2 separate regions of the Homo sapiens genome follow, and region 2 is linked to region 1. Evidence: promoter capture Hi-C in human tissues and cell types (Jung and others, 2019). All regions are on one chromosome and are shown on one strand. Each heading gives the region's core, a stretch centred on a gene start or on the middle of the fragment in contact. The rest is flanking DNA. Distances are from core to core; before and after follow the strand shown. Region 1 holds the start of SLCO1B3 (solute carrier organic anion transporter family member 1B3). Region 2 has its middle 270 kb from the start of LINC02398.

Region 1 (4,628 bases), core at 2,076-4,575:
TGCCCTGCGCCCCGCCCTCCTCAGCCCTTGGGCGGTCTATGGGACCAGGTGCTCCTGGAGCAGGGGGCGGCGCTCCTCGGGCAGGCTCCAGCTGGCGCAGGAGCCCGTGGTGCGTTGCCGTGTGTGGGGCGGCGGGGGGAGGAGGGGCGGCAGGGGGAGAGGGGGAGGCTCAGGCATGGCAGGCTGCAGGTCCCCAGCCCTGCCCCAGGGGGAGGCAGCTGAGGCCTGGCGAGAATTCCAGCGCAGCGCTGGCCGGCCGGCACTGCTGGGACACCTGGCGCACTTTCCGCAGCTGCTGGCCCAGGTGCTAAGGCCCTCACTGCCCGGCGCGGCCCGCCGCTCTGGGTGCAGGGCTTGCCGAGCCCACGCCCACCGGGAACTGGCGCTGGCTCGCAAGCGCCGCACGCAGCCCGGGTTCCGCCCGCGCCTCTCCCTCCACACCTTCCAGCAAGCTGAGGGAGCCGGCTCCGGTCTCGGCCAGCCCAGAAAGGGGCTCCCACAGTGCAGAGGGGGGCTGAAGGGCTCCTCAAGCACGGCCAGAGTGGGCGCCAAGGCGGAGGAGGTGCCGCGGAGAGGGAGCAAGGGCTGCCAGGACGCTGTCACCTCTAACCACTACGCCCAGCTAATTTTTTGTATTTTTAGTAGAGAGGGAGTTTTACCGTGTTAGCCAGGATGGTCTCCATCTCCTGACCTCGTGATCCGCCTGCCTCGGCCTCCCAAAGTGCTGGAATTACAGGTATGAGCCACCGCGCCTTGCCCCTACCTTCTTATGGTGGTGACTGACATTAAGAGAGAGAATTGCCATAAGATTAGTCATAATGATACCAGAGCTTTGACCCTTAGTGGGTATGGAGACATGGGGGTTCTTTCCAGGGAGTGCAGCTTTCTGTAATTACGTCTTGACCAGCTAAGGAAGGTGGGGTGGGTAGGCAATGGCAGGTCTGCTTTGAGCCTGAAGTTTCCTTCTGGGAATACGCACCCAGTACCCATCTGAGAACTCAGACTAAAAACTATTAGGAAAAATTGCTGGGGACGTGTTTCAGAGACTTGACTTTTACTCTTGTAATATGAATTAACTGCTTTAAAAATGGACAATATGCAAATGCCATACAATGACTCTATTTAGGTATGGAATCTATAATGTGCCAGGTACTGGGTGAGGCAGTTTACACAGAGCAAATCTTTATTACAACTATAGCCTTCCCACTTAATGGATGAAAGCATAGATACTTAGAATGGTGAAACAACTTAGGAAATTTATACTGCTGTCAAGTAGCAGAGACATTGGTATCAAAGTTTATCAAACTTCAAAGCCCATAATATTTCATCAGAACTGTGATGATTATTGCGGCAACAAACAGCAGATTGTTTTAAGCAAATTTGGAGTTGTATTGATCCACAGCTGTTAGCATAATATTTATCTTGAAAAAAAGTGTTGCAATGTGTTTCCTCTGACCACTCTTATTTTTTCCACAAGTCCCACAAAAAGGGAAGTCTAATTACTTACATAGGAAGAAAAAAGGGCACAGAGAATGCTCTTTGACTTCTGAAAACATTCCAGAATTTTACCACTGATAGCGTTAGTTTAGGGATTAGAAAGTTTCTCAGTGCATTTGTACTATTTTATCTTCATTCTATGCATGTATTTGTCCCAAATGAAATTGATGTGTCTTGAATGAAATGGATGTGTGAGGAGAAAACCATTAGCATGAGAATATCCAAACTGTCTTCCCATTCTGAATAAAAGAAAAGCCATAAAACTGATAATTAATGTTTAGTATCTCTGCTATGATGGTTCTCAAAAGCTGACAGTATGTAAAAATTATTCTAAGTGCTTATTTAAAAAGCATAATCTCCGAACTCGTGAATCAGAATCTCTTGGGTGTGGGGCTGGATCGCACTTTTGACAAAGGCTCCCCAGTAGATTTTGACTCAACAGAGGGGTGTTTGGGAGCCTATATCTAATTTTCCCTGCCCCAGGTCTACACTTCAGTGTTCCCCACATTTTCTAATCCTTCTCTCCCTCCACACTCCGGTTCCTTTCATTATTCTAATACTTCCATGAATTAACCAGGTATAGAACTAATCTAGGCTGGGCGCAGTGGCTCACGCCTGTAATCCTAGCACTTTGGGAGGCCGAGGTGGGCAGATCACGAGGTCAGGAGATCGAGACCATCCTGGCTAACATGGTGAAACCCCGTCTCTACTAAAAATACGAAAAAATTAGCCGGGCGTGGTGGCGGGCGCTTGTAGTGCCAGCTACTCGGGAGACTGAGGCAGGAGAATGGCGTGAACCCGGGAGGCGGAGCTTGCAGTGAGCCGAGATCGTGCCGCTGCACTCCAGCCTGGGTGACAGAGCAAGACTCCGTCTCAAAAAAAAAAAAAAAAACTAGTTTATCAAATAACTGTGATATAGAAATTAAATACATATTGCTGCAACTGTATCAACAACTGTCCTGTCAGTGATAAGGGGTAACAATGTTTTCATACATGCATTCTCTCTTTGCTATATACATACACACATACACATAAATACATATATACATACACTCATGCATGTGTGTGTATATATACATGTGAGAGAAGACTCCGTTTATTATTTATATTTTTATAGTACACTTCTAAAACACAGCCATGTGCCTGAGATATAGTAGGGAGTCAAATATGTTTGAGTTACTGAATTAATTAATTTGACTTCATCCTTACTCAAGAAAAGTTTCAACTGAGTGAAGGTCTTCCATTCTCTAAAGAGCAAGTCAATAGAAGGAGATCATTCTTCCTTTACACATTGATGTAAGGAATATATCATACAAACTAGTCTTGATTTTTGTCATTTAGAAGACTAGTCTTGTAATTAATTGGCAATTTAGTATTCCATGTGAGATATCCAGTGTCCATGTACGTCATATTAGATCCATACACATGTAACAAGCAAAGAGGGTATGTTTTATTTTTTGAATGCTAATGTAACATGTAGGGACATTTTAAAAAATCGCCTTGACATATTTTCTATTTGGAATAGTTTTAAATACTTTGGATAATGTGTTGTATTTGTATTTCTAAAGAAGAAAATCTTATGCAACCAACTTAATTGAATAAGAAATAAATCATTCCCAGAAATAATTTATTTTCTAATGTTAACATAATGTGTACATTCTGAGAAATTATTAATAAAATGTTTAAAAGATAGGCTTCTGGGGTGAACTCCTAGAATTAGCTAGGTATGTTTTTTCTGTTTGCCTAGGACAATGACCTAATAAGATGGTTAATCATCATTGGACTCATAAAAACAAACAAATAAAAAGCCAACTAACCATTTAAAGTGAGACTTTAACATCAGAAAAAGGATGGACTTGTTGCAGTTGCTGTAGCATTCAAAGTCAAGGTAAGAACCGTCGAGGTTGTCTAATTAAAACATTTCTTTTATGTAAGAAATTTTAACAAATTTCAGTGAAAATGTTTTTGGTAGTTATGATAAATATTACAGATTTTATGCTCTGTGTCTTCTCCACACTTTTGTTCTGAGCCCTTAAAGCCTTGTAAATATCCCTTCTAGAAATAGAAGAGCCTCAGATTTATATACTCAAAAATAAGAGTAAATCATACCTTTATAAAGTGAAAAATAAAGTTTGGAGTCCTATTTCTATTGCTTTCTAAACAAATGAAACATGAAGTCTGAAAGGATGGACTTCTAGTTACTCTCTTAAAATATACTATAAGATAATTATTTGTATAAACTGTATTGAATTACTATACCAGGCTCCCTATTTCTTTGATTTCACTTTAACTGGATAAGTAGGAGTGGGCGGGTGGAGGGGTGGAAAATATGTTTCAAAGTCACTTAATCACCTCACTTTCCTCCATTCAACTCGTTTGATTTAGGGTGAGGGGAAAGAGATTTTCTAGATAACTTTTTTATCTCTGTTCAAATAAGAGAAAAAAATCTTCTGGGCACAGCTCTTGGAAAGAATTAACAGCTCAATAAATAATGGTCCCCTTCACCCATTCAGGAAGGTGGCTTCCCTGATAAGACAGTTATTTTTATTGTGAAAGTAAGGTGGGGATGCAGAAATTCTCTCCTCTGAACAATCTAAGAAGTTAGGAAATGCTGTTTTCCCTTTTATCCTCCTCAGTTCCATAGGTACATGCTAGAAACTGGGTCACTTGGCCTGCACTGGTTTTCTATAACCCCTTAAATATGAAAAGCTAAACAGAAATAAGCAGAGGCTGGTAAGATTCTGCCCTCTACTTCAGCCCAATCAAACTGTGAAGAACTGACCTGTTCTGTTCAGGGAAGAGTTGCAATGCTGCATACAAATGCCTGTGGCTCTGTCTATAAACATATTGTGTCCTCAACATTTATTTATGTCAATAATTTGGAACTCAGAAATAATATGTTCAGAGCAAAATATATTAAACGCTTCTAAATAAGGCTTAAAATGCCACAATGAAGTAAAAAGTGTGGTATTTATTCAAGGCTAAATTGATATTCAAGTTTTGTAGGTACTTTGTACTTACTTGATACATTTTTTTTTTTTTTTTTTTGAGAAGGAGTTTCGCTCTTGTTGCCCAGGCTGGAGTGCAATGGCGTGATTTCAGCTCACCACAACCTCAGCCTCCTGGGTTCA
Region 2 (4,451 bases), core at 696-3,195, 1.1 Mb before region 1:
GAGAACAATGCTCCTCTTGTCTTTTGTTTCTTGGATTTCATATAATAGCTTGAAATCATAGGATCTTAGTGCTATAAAGAGCCTTGGAGATCATTTAGTTGAACATGCAAACTTTTAGGTGAGGAAACCAAGGCCCACAGAGGTGAAATGACTTGTCCAATTTGAAGGTAGAAATACTGCTTTTAGTTAAAAGCAGAAAACAGGACTCACTGTCTTCAGAGCAAAGCTGCACAAGAACCTTATGCTTTATAATTGCATTTTGCTCCGTTATTCTCTGACGGAATGGAAGGCAAGGGAGCTTTGGCCACTTGACTTATTGGTGGAGATCGATAAATTTGTCATGTTTCTTCTGCTTTTGCTTTTTTTCATAAAACTGCACACAGCAGCTAAGAATTCAGAAATGCCCCTCAGATATATCTAAATATCCAAATCAGGCAAAAAACATATGGTAGGAATCTTTTTTCGTGGTAATTACAAATTTAAAGAGGGATACACACATTTTTAATAAAGTTTAATTTAATAAAAAAGGGGCATACCAAGACTAGGGTAATCTACATGTTGCAGATATAAAATGTCCGAACTCTGAACTAGTTAACTGAGTAGTTAGTTCATTTGCAGTGGAGATATTTGTGGAACCAGGGAACATTCATAAGCAGTACGGGATTAGTAGGATAGGGTATCCAGTTGGTGTTCAAGAATATCAGTATACAAAAAGCATCTCATTTCTTTATTGTTATGAATCAAATTAAATATGGGTTATTCCATTTTCCTGGCTAGCAGGCTAGCAGGACATCCAAACTCAAGTTTTTTTTTCTTTTTCTTTTCTTTTTTTTTTTTTAAGGAGAACTTCCCTACTTCACGCAGAATGGGAAAAGACCCAAGGGGCTTAAATAAACCAGAAAAATTGGACCAGGGCCTCCATTCTCTGCCTTTGTTGATAGTCACTGAGATGTTTGTTGTTTAAGCTTGTGTGGTCCTTTTGGAGGCATTTCTCTTTTACCATTCACCGCCTTCGTGGGGCATTGACACAGAACCTTCACGCTGTGCAGGGTTCTAGACATTCACACAGAAGCTCTGCTACTTCTTAGGTGCTGTGAAGGTGCGTGTCCTCTACTCCCAACCTACCACCACTGCTCCAGAGTCCACCATCCCCAGCTTCCAGTCTCTGGATATCTAGCTCACTTCAGGGTCTAGTGGGGCAAAACGCTCCAGGCCCTTTGGGACTCTATTGCTTAATTTGCTCCAACGGGTCTGAAGCCAAAAATGGTTCCTCTTCTCCTGGGGAATTCAGAACACAAAAGGAAGTCTGACAGAAGAAAAAAAAATAATCTCTCTCTCTCTCTTTTTTTTTTTTGGACAGTGAGTTTTCAGCAAGAAGGATAGAACAAATTTTAATTTCTCAATAATGTGGCCTATTTCATAAGGCTACACTTTATTCTAGCCATACGTTTTTATGATGAGTGACAATACAGGAGGAGGTGAAAGGAAGATCCAAATTCACAGAAGCTGCTGCTTCTAAGTGTTGATACTAACCAGGTCCCTGAGCTCTTGCTGGGTAAAAAGTAGGTTACTTTTAAGTGGAACAACTGTTCAAAGTACAAAGACTGGAGTACGTGGGGGGAATAAAGAGCAGTGGTTTTTTCCCAGAGGAGCGGGCCTCTTCTACTAAGCAGCCAAAAATGTTTATTGCTGTTTAATGTTCTATTGCCAAACTTGATTTCTTTTCTTCTCAGAAACCTTTAACTTCCTATCAAATAGAATCCACACTTACTGCCTACTTTATGCCTTAGGGATCCTTGAGAATTTCCTAGGTTAATTTATGCTAAGTGCTATTAAGGCATCATCTAGACAAGTGAATGCCCTTCCCCCGCCTAACCATCTTTTTTTAGTTGTTTTTGATGTACCTCCTAGACTAGGACCTGAGATAAATGTAAACTCCTAGAAAATATCCCAGTGAGCGAAGCTTGTCAGGTCTATAAGGCAGAAGAAAAAGATTATTTCTGACATGACTGCCCATTTCTCCACATGGTGGTGTAACAGCGAAACTTGGAGTTGTTCTTCCTCTTCTAGCTCAGCCCTGATGGGTTCATACCCGCTTGTGACAACTGATTGGGTGAATCTCTCCCCAACAGCATGTTGGCAGGATGATGGTGTGGCTTGAAATCTGCCATGGTGGAATTATTTATAAAGAGGGGCAAAGACTACAAATAATAGCTGGTTGATAAACCAGCACACTACTACTAAAAAATCACATTTGAACCAGCTTTTTGAATAATTTATTAAAACAACAACAGCAACTGTAAGGACCTAAAGGCTTTTCATTTCAACTTTATGTGAAAAGAATACCTAGAGAGAGAGTTTGGGTGATTCATAATGGGAAGGCTATTCATTCCCCCTGCTTCAGCATATATTAATTATAATTTTAAAATTCCAACATCACTTTTGTTTAATAAAAATTAATTGCCTGTGTGCCAATGATAACATATCTTTAGAGCATGCCACAACTTTGCTCCCTTAAAAGAAAAATATAAGAAAATGAGCAAGAAAGTCTTTTGAGTTAATGTTTTAAGAAGTAGGTGGAGAGATAATGAAGAATACCATTTGAAAGCTATTGCAGGTGATATTTTTAGGAAGTTATTTGTACCTTAATGCTCATTGCTTCCCCCTAAGCTTTGCCAGCGATAACTCCTGTTAAACCTAAATTACTTTGACAATTATTACAGATTTTAAGGAATGTTGTGGTAAGCCTTAGGGAAGCAACTAGATTAAATGAAATAATATATTAGTGACTACAAAATGTATTGTTGAAGAAAAAGCCCCTTTCTTCCCCCAAAATCACCATGTCCATAAACAAGAACACCCTGAGTGTTATATCAGTATCAAGTTTGACTTTATTTTTATTAGAACCATGGCAATTGGCAAAGAAATTATTTTTTGTATAGTGCTGTCATATACATATTGCAAAGCAGGATTGTAAAACAACATATATTTATATATAAGTCAAGGATTCTGTTAAGCCTTCAGGAAGCTTAGGTATCAAGTAGTAGTTTGAAAAGCAAAAAATAAAAAAGGTATGAATGGTAGGAGGCTTTCTTTAAGATAAGGAGCCCTGAATCATTGCTGATTCTGTTGTCTCTGCAGTTGCTAATGTTCACGCTTCAAGGATTGTCAGCTACACCGCTGTAGAATCACCAAACAATGCCTCCAAATCCCTCAAGAAGTCAGCCATACAGCCTTCTAACTTTAGGAGCATCTCATGTTGACTTTGTCAAATATCTCAGGATCCATCACGAACCACAGATGAACTAGGGCCCCGAGCTTCAACATCAGAGAGGGAGATGTTTCCCTGCATTTGGTTCTCAAACACACACCTCTACAGACGTGGCTGAATCCCCTCTTCCATCCCTCTAGGGAAGAGATGGCCTGATACGGAGTCTGGCTAGAGTACTGAAAATTTATCATAATGTTTATACTTCATCGTCTTCTATTCTTGTGCCTTCTAGCCTTAAAATGTAACCATGATATATACAGAAGTTATCCCTCAATTTCTTGTATCTTATTTGGAGGGAAATTTTGGATGTTTGAGGGTAAGAGGCACATGAGGGACTGGATTTGAATCTCTGCATGTCAGATATTAAAGTTCATGGAATTAGGCACACATTGCTATAGTCAGTGTAACCCTCAAATCTGATCTTACTAAACCTACACAATATTTAAAAGATGCTCCAGATTTCTGAAACACTATAAAAATAATGCTCTGAATTTTAGACATTTGATAATTTGTAAGTGAAGGTATTCGAGTTTGATTATGATATGTCCATGCATTGAAGTTTATTTATGAGGAGAGTTATTCAATAGACATTTCTTGGGGCCAAATATATGTATATGAAACCAAAAAATTTAAAACAATTAAGCTAGAAATAATAGTGCCTCACATTTATTGTCTACTTTTCCTGTGCCAGGAACTGTGATAAGGGCATTTAAGGGATTTTTCATTAAGAAAATCTAGGATCACACGTCTTATAAATTTTAGAGTCAGCCTATTAGAACAACTGGACCGAATCTAAGGGTTTAACCCCCACAATACAACTGTCACACTATACAAAATATAGTGTAAATGGGCACCGATGGAACAGCTGCAGAATGATCTGAGGAGAAAAGACTTCTTGAAAGGCACATTTGGAACTAAATTTTGACATATGATCCTATGGCTCCATGCTATAGATTATATTAACAACCTAAAAGTACATAGATTTACAAATTTGAAAATCAGTTAAAATTTTGGAAGGAATAGATACCACATGTACTGACTTAAATTTACAGCACAAGTAATTTACCTCCAGTTCCTATTCCTTCATCTCTCCAGTCCACCAAAACACCACTGAGAAAATATTCATGAATTGTCATTTCAACTCAAAAACCTTCCCATCATCACTTTCCCAAGCTTTGGT

The links. The method cuts DNA at HindIII sites, captures the fragments that hold promoters and counts their contacts. A contact is called where the count stands out against the background at its distance.
Region 2: a contact is called between a fragment that was not itself captured here and the fragment with the promoter of SLCO1B3 in region 1, in 1 of the 25 tissues and cell types used here (dorsolateral prefrontal cortex).

Annotation. Positions count from the first base shown.
Region 1 is chr12:20,807,380-20,812,007 of GRCh38, forward strand. SLCO1B3 (solute carrier organic anion transporter family member 1B3) reads left to right here and starts at 3,326. Exons shown (of 16, transcript NM_019844.4): 1 at 3,326-3,385. The HindIII fragment of the contact is 19,974 bases long and covers 1-4,628 here.
Region 2 is chr12:19,739,748-19,744,198 of GRCh38, forward strand. No RefSeq gene overlaps it. Among named protein-coding and RNA genes, the nearest start is that of LINC02398, 270 kb to the right of the region's middle. The HindIII fragment of the contact is 3,582 bases long and covers 155-3,736 here.